Linked DNA regions of Homo sapiens: region 1 is linked to region 2. Evidence: promoter capture Hi-C in 16 types of primary human blood cells and fetal thymus (Javierre and others, 2016). All regions are on one chromosome and are shown on one strand. Each heading gives the region's core, a stretch centred on a gene start or on the middle of the fragment in contact. The rest is flanking DNA. Distances are from core to core; before and after follow the strand shown. Region 1 overlaps ZNF280C (zinc finger protein 280C). Region 2 holds the start of SMARCA1 (SNF2 related chromatin remodeling ATPase 1).

Region 1 (3,873 bases), core at 543-3,042, 690 kb before region 2:
TTAGAAAGCTCACTAGGGCAACTATATTAACAATAATTTATTGTGTATTTCAAAATAACTAAAAGAGTGGAATTGGAATGTCCCTAACACAAATAAATGATAAATACTTGAGGTGATGGATACCCGTTACCCTGATTTGATCATTATGTATTGTATGCTTGTATCAAAATATCCCATGCACCCCAAAAGTGAGTTTTAAATATGCTGTATTTTTAACATTTTGTATGATAATAGAAACAAACTACTGCCTGGTTTTATCTATTGAATATAATATTAAAATTGACCTCTGATTGTTATTAAGACTTTAATTTTAGGTTTTATCATTCTTATGCTTGTAAAGAAAAACTTCTAACCATTGTTTTTTTTAGTTGATTGATGTGGTTTGTTGGAGGGATATTTCTAGTGCAACTAGATTGTAGACTAAGTTGGCAGGTCGTTTCAATGTTCTGTAGGCTGTTTTTGAGCTATTCCAGTTGTCAGTGTGTATGTCTTTTTCAGTTGCTAGACTATAAGATATTTAAGATCAGGAATTATATTTAATTTATCTTTGTGTCCCCAGCATCTGTCACAGTGCCTTGAATGCCATAGGTTTGTTGAAGTTAGTATTACTAATCTACTCTCAGAGAAGCAAGTTTTGCTCCTGGATAGCATAGCATTGCTGTTTTTCATGAGCAAGCACACATCAGACTACAAATTTCTTTCTCCTTCTTTGCCTTATATACATATGTTTTCGCTGACTTTTTTTTTTTTTTTTTTTTTTTTTTTGAGACAGAGTCTCACTCTATCCCTCAGGCTGGAGTGCAGTGGCGCGATCTCAGCTTACTGCAGCCTCCGCCTCCCGGGTTCAAGTGATTCTCGTGCCTCAGTCTCCCAAGTAGTTGGGATTACAAGCATGCAGCATGATGTCCAGCTAATTGTTTGTATTTTTAATAGAGACTGGGTTTCGCCAACATGGCCAGGCTGGTCTCAAACTCCTGGCCTCAAGTGATCTGCCCGCCTCGGCCTCCCAGAGTGTGGGGTTACAGGCATGAGCCACCACGCCTGGCCCTCTGACTTCTTTACATAAAGTTAGCTCTTGAATATTTTCTCCAGTAAAGAGATAGATAATCCAAGGTGAGATAATCCCTAAACATTTGTATTTCACTTTGAGTACATGCTTTTGAATGCGAGTATGTCTGCTATTTAAATTAACAAAATTAATATAAAACAATTATCTGAATATCTAGCATAAGATAAACCATCTGGCATCCTTCCCTGCAATCCATTTGTTCCATGTTGGTATTAGACATGCAGAATATTAATGTAGGCAGTACAATCCTCTCTCACATCTTCCCTTATTAATAAGATACCAATAGTAATGATAATATTGATAATAATGATACTATATGTCTTATAGCACTTTAGAATTAAGTGTTCGGTGTGCCTTTCCATACATTTTATTATTTAACCTATGTGGTGATCCAGTGATATAGACAAGGCAAGTATTATCCCCATATTAGAGATGAAGAGGCTCAGAGAGGCTAAATTCCTTACTCAAGGTCATGTAGCTAGGAAGAGGTAGTACTAAGATTCTTAAACTCAGGTCTTTTGACTTCTACTCTAGTGCTTTCAAAACATGTATTTTCTTTTTGCAAGCTAACAAGTTCTGCTTCAGTGCTTTTCTATACCACATATATTTCATAGGACTTCATAGAAGCTGTTCTTCAAGTACATGGGGGGAGTGTAATCAAATGATTAAAGAAAATGTTAGTGGATGACTTTTCTATTATTAACCAATAGATACAAACATTTTCTTTTTCCAAATAGTAAATGATAAATTTTATATGTTACCATTAAGGAAATTCTGAGCATTATTATAACCACCATGCTGTGTGATGAATTGATATAAGCTCACCATAACCTTGGAAGCAGAAATCATGCCCCCTGATCCCCCAGGAAGAGGTCACATTTACTGAAAATCTGTTTTATAGTTACCAGAGGGTAATGCAGGCCTTTCCAGAGTTATTATTTCAGACCTCTATATTACATTTTGACCTCTCTATTTGTGAAAGCCTTTTAGTTAGTTGGGTTTTTTTGTTTGTTTGTTTTTGAGACGGGGGTCTCACTCTGTCACCCAGGTTGGAGTGTAGTGGTGCCATCTTAGCTTACTGCAACCTCTGCCTCCGAGGCTCAAGCGATCCTCCCACCTCAGCCTCCCAAGTAGCTGGGACCACAGGCGGATGTCACCATGCCCAGCTAATTTTATTGCATTTTTGGTAGAGATGAGTTGCCCAGGCTGGTCTCAAACTCCTGAGCTCAGGCAGTCCACCCACCTTGGCCTCCCAAAGTGCTGGGGTTACAGGCATGAGCCACCACACCCAGCCCTTTTTAATTCTATCAAAGCATAAAATAGCTATGGAATGTGCTCTTTTGATATTTATCTAATTTTTACTCCTAATTATTCGTTAATATCTGTTAACATACAACTGTTATCAATATAAAACTAATATTACAACAGTAAGTAAATATCAAGATAAATTTCATTTAATCAGTATGACCATTTAGAATAAGTAGAAGGCTTATCTGATTGTAGTTTATACTTGCCATTTTCAAAATAATGATTTTAACTTTTTGTATTGCAGTGGTTTTTTGGTAACAGTGTTATTGAGATATAATTCATATATCACACAATTTACCCATTTACAGTGTACACAGTTCAGTGGTTTTTAGTATATTCAGATTTGGGCAAACATCACTACAATAAATTTTAAAACATTTTTATCACCCTCAAAAGAAACCTCATACCCTTTAGCATTCACTATTTCCCCTCCATTAGACCTGTGCAAACTTTAGTCTGCTTTTAGTGTCTATGGATTTTCCTATTCTGGACGTTTCATATAAATTGAGTCATACAATATGCCATCTTTAGGGACTGGTTTCTTTCGCTTAGCATAATGTTTTGTAGGTTCATTGATATTGTACCATGTTTCAGTACTTCATTCTTTTTTGTGGCTGAGTAATACTCCACTGTATAGATATTCTACATTTTATCCTTTCATCTATTGGTGGGCATATGGGTTGTTTCCTCTTTTTGGCTATAATGGTGCTGTAAAAATTCATGTACAGGTTTTTGTGTGAACGTATGTTTTCATTTCTCATGGGTATATACCTCTGAGTAGAATGGCTGAGTCAAATGGTAACTCTTACCTTTAATATTTTAAGAAACTGCCAAACTGTTTTTCTTTTTTTGTTCTTTTGTTTTGTTTTGTTTTTGAGACGGAGTCTTGCCGTGTTGCCCAGGCTGGAGTGCAGTGGTGCGATCTTGGCACACTGCAACCTCCGCCTCCTGGGTTCAAGCAATTTTCCTGCCTCAGCCTCCCGAGTAGCTGGGATTACAGGTACCTGCCACCATGCCTGGCTAATTTTTTGTATTTTTAAAAGAAATGGAGTTTCACCATGTTGGCCAGGCTGGTCTCAAACTCCTTACCTCAAGTGATCCGCCCACCTCGGCCTCCCAAAGTTCAGGGAGTACAGGCCTAAGCCACCACACCCAGCCTGCCAAACTGTTTTTCATTGTAACTACACTGTTGTGCATTCCCACCAGCAATGTATGAGGGTTCGCATTTCTCTATGTCCTAGCCAATACTTGTTATTGTCTGTTTATTATAGCCATTCTGGTTGGTGAAGGGACATCTCATTTGGGATTTCATTTGCATTTCCCTGGTGACTAATGACGTGGACCATCTCTTTGTGTGCTTATTGGCCGTTTGTATATCTTCTTTGAAGAAATGCCTATTCATCTATTTTCTCTTTGGTTGCTTGTGCTTTTGGTGTCATATATAAGAAACCGTTGCCTAACTCATGCTCACAAGAATTTACTACTGTATTTTCTTC
Region 2 (3,949 bases), core at 883-3,382:
GGATCTCCTTGTGATCAGCCTGCCTCGGCCTCCCAAAGTGCTGGGATTACAGGCGTGAGAGCCAGTTCTTTATAAAAGTTTGCTCTGTTCTCCAACCCCAATGGAATAGAGCAATCCAAGACCATTTCAAATGAAAAGACATAATTGGGGAAAGTAGTAGCAGATAGAGCAAGGTGTTGAGTAGGCTCAGAAATGAGATGACTCTTGTTGAACAAAGTCTACAGATCATGAATTTTAGGCAGATTTACAAATAAGGATAGCACATGCTCTGTAAATAGCAGCTGTTGCCACAAGCCAAAGGGCAATATTTACATGAATCCTGTGGCAAGGTCTGTTGACCAAGCATCGACCTTTCCAGCCAAATTCATATACTTGGTAGCACTTTCAGCCGCGTCATCTTGAAAAGGAAGGATTGCATTATACATGCATGGAAAATTGCCAACGTACAAATATGTTCTGCCCCCAAATAAATTTTTAAATTCTTTTTTTGGAACATGGAACACATGTCCCCACAAAAAAAAGGTGTTATAAAGGGATGTGTTTCCCAGATTTCCTCACAAAAGTGCATTTAACCCACGATGTAACTGAAATAATGTACACTGACAATGAGAAATACAGTGGAACAAAACTGACTTGAAAGCAGGGACACACCAATACACAACAAATATTTCTTGAGCTTTTCTCCTTTGCAGCCCCATGCAAGGAAAGAGGAATTCTATCTTTCAATAGCTGCAACATGGTGAAAAATAAATCCTCCACTGTTGCTGTCCTTAAGGGTCCTTCTCAAGACAGGGTATTTAGGGTGTCCATTGCCTCAAGTATTTATCATTTCTATGTGTTGGGAACATTTCATGTCCTCTCTTCTAGCTATTTCGAAATATACATTGCATTGTTTGTTCAGTAGAGTCACCCTACTCTACTTTGAACATTATAACTTATTCCTTCCATCTAACTGTATATTTGTACTCATTAACTGACCTCTCTTCATTGATCCGCCTCAACCCCACACACCCTTCCCAGACTTCTGGTACCTATCATTCTACTCTCTACCTCCATGAGATCAACTTTTTAGCTCCCACATATGAGTGAGAACATGTGTTATTTGTCTTTCTGTGCCTGGCTTATTTTGTGCAACATAATAAACATCAGTTTCATTTATGTTGCTGCAAATGACATTTCATTCTTTTTTATGGCTACATAGTATTCCATTGTGTATACAGACCACATTTTCCTTAACCATTCACCTGCTGATGGACACTGATTGATTCTGTATCACGAAATGATTTTATATCCATGATCATTCATATTATGTGTTGTATTATTACCAAATAATAATGGAGGTGCAAATAGAACCTGTGCCAAAAAATCACAGTAATTCATTTCAATTGCTAATATTGAGTGCCTACCACATGTTGCCCCAGGTTCGGTGGGTAACCTTGTCCCCTAGGAATTTAAAAATGCAGTGGTGAAGGTAAGAGAAGTGTTCCTGCACATTGGCTACCTGAGAGGTACCAGAGGTGAAAATAGAGCAAATATACGTAAAACTTGAGAGTCAGACTTTGCCTTGTAAGTGAATGTGTTTGCAGCTGCAATCAAGAGATTCAAGGAGTGCTTCTCTTTGTGCAGAATTTAGGAAGGTGGAAACAGCACCGCTAATCCTACCTCTTTAGGGATCCGGGAAAGGGCAGTCCCAGAGGGGTTCCGCGCTTTGCAAATGGTGAAAAAGACCTTCTACAGTACAGTTAGGAGCAGAGGAAAAGTTCTTTGTGCAAGAAGGGGAGAGCGCCCCGAGGTACAAAGAGCAGATTTAAGGGAAAGAGGATTCGTTCTGCACGCATCTGCGAGGGGAGCTCAGGCTCACTGTTGGGGGCGTGTGGGAAAGGAGATTTTCAGGGGGCCGCGAGTTGTGGGTTCCCGCCTCCACCCCTGTCCGCGCCCCACACTCAGGCAACAGTTGGTCGTGCGGGGCCGGCCCGGGCTCTGGGTGGGGAAGGGGAGTCTCGCGATCGTTGAGGGGGGGGGGGTGGAGGAAGGGGGGAGAGTGACGGGGGGAGGCCATGACGTAGGGTGGGTGGACGGAAGTGGGGCAGGGTTGAGGGTTATTTAAAGAAGGGGGGGCCTGAGCGAAGGGGTTGGAAGCGGAGTGATTCCCCACCCCTGCTCCATCTAGCTCTTTCCAGTGCAGCCACTGCCGCCGCCCAGGAGCCCTCGTCCCCTGCCTTGTCCCCCTACTCGTTCCCGCTCCCACGGCATGGAGCAGGACACTGCCGCAGTGGCAGCCACCGTGGCAGCCGCGGATGCGACCGCCACTATCGTGGTCATAGAGGACGAGCAGCCCGGGCCGTCCACCTCTCAGGAGGAGGGAGCGGCCGCCGCGGCCACCGAAGCCACCGCGGCCACGGAGAAGGGCGAGAAGAAGAAGGAGGTAAATAGGAAGGGGGTGTGTGTGTGGTGGACAAATCCTGTGCCTGGCCCCTCTGAGGGGCCCAAACCCTGACCTTTCGGCGCCGACAGGTACCCGCGGAGCTTTGCGGGGCTAGGGGCGGCGGGTGCGGGGGTCGGCGGCGGAACCGCCTGGCGTTCGCTCCCCTCCCCCTTTCCTTCTCGCCGCCTGGAGGACGGGGGCGGGGCTGGGCGCGGGCGGGAGCGGCGCGGGGTGGAGGGGTGCCCGCTCTCCCGGGGCCTGGGGGCTCGGGAGCCCCTCGACAGCCCCCGACCCCCTCCACCTTCCCGGAACTCGGGTAACGGGGTGGGGGATGGGGCTGTGCAGGAAAAAGCCTCCGCCTCTCCCTCTCCTCTCGCTCGCTCCCTCTCCCCCCGCCTTCCCGTCGGCCTCTGCCTGGGAAATCTGGGCCCTTCAATCCCACACTCGCGCTAAAGGGGTTTTGCTGGGGCTTTTTTTGTAATTTGAATTTCAAGGTGCTGGTGGTTGCTGGGTGGAGGGTGACAGGGAAGACATTTCTTTCTTTCATTGGCAATGTCGGTCTTTTGGATGGCAGGAAAAAAACCATCCCTTGTTCGTTTGAACCCCGCCTGCCGAGGTGGGGGTGTCACCCCGAGGAAAGGAGCTCTCTGCGTCGTACCCCCCCGCCCCCCCAAACTGAGGAACCGTGGACGCTGGCTTAGGAAAATTTCCAACATCTGCACCCTCACCCTCTTCTGCCCCGCCCCCGACGGTATAGGGTTTCACTCCAGGGCCACCCCAATGGTCCCTCAATCCGGCCCCAAGCTTTCCAGGCTTCCGCCTCCCTCTCCTAGTGGGCGCTGCTGGCTCCTGGACACACACAGGTTTTTTTTTTTTTTCTCCTTTAATTTTTAAAAAACTCAGCGTCGCCAAGATGAGCTGCTTCTAACGTAAGGGAACTGCTCTGACACATATTAAAGCCAATCCAGAAAATATGTATTATCTCCATAAGGCACATTTCGTGTGGCCCGAGACATGCAAATAAAACTATAAAACGTTGAAAAATTGACATAAAAATAGGATGGGGCATAAGCATTTTTGATGTATGATAAAATTGCATAACTAATGGTTTATGTGTGGATTTTTTCCTATTTACGAGTAGTCATATCGCAATTTTAAAAAGGTGGGTAATTATGCTTTAGAGATCTCAAGTGGCTTTGTCTGAATCATTATATGATACTATACGACCAAATGAAAAGCTTTTGAGGAAAATGAACACCTTTCGCCTTAAATGAGAAGAGTAATTTTAAATTTAGCAGTTGCTTCTGTGACATATTTTACTATTACAAGGTTGACTAAACAGAAGGACAATTGTAGTGCTAAATGAAAACCGTAGAAAACATACACATTGTAAGATCTACGCGGTACTTGGATTAGTAAGACAATATTGTTGGTTAAAAGTGGGTGTAATACCAAGCATCAATATAAATCAAATGTTGTGAAATTCGGAAATGTCTGTGTGCCTTTTATTCCCTGGACTGGGCA

Evidence for each region. The method cuts DNA at HindIII sites, captures the fragments that hold promoters and counts their contacts. A CHiCAGO score of 5 or more calls a contact.
Region 1: a contact is called between a fragment that was not itself captured here and the fragment with the promoter of SMARCA1 in region 2, in 1 of 17 cell types (monocytes). The highest score is 5.8, in monocytes.

The regions. Positions count from the first base shown.
Region 1 is chrX:130,216,379-130,220,251 of GRCh38, reverse strand. The region is part of intron 13 of ZNF280C (zinc finger protein 280C); the gene reads left to right. Among named protein-coding and RNA genes, the nearest start is that of RAB33A, 46 kb to the right of the region's middle. The HindIII fragment of the contact is 5,050 bases long and covers 1-3,873 here.
Region 2 is chrX:129,521,673-129,525,621 of GRCh38, reverse strand. SMARCA1 (SNF2 related chromatin remodeling ATPase 1) reads left to right here and starts at 2,132. Exons shown (of 25, transcript NM_001282874.2): 1 at 2,132-2,425. The coding sequence starts at 2,252. The HindIII fragment of the contact is 3,805 bases long and covers 1-3,231 here.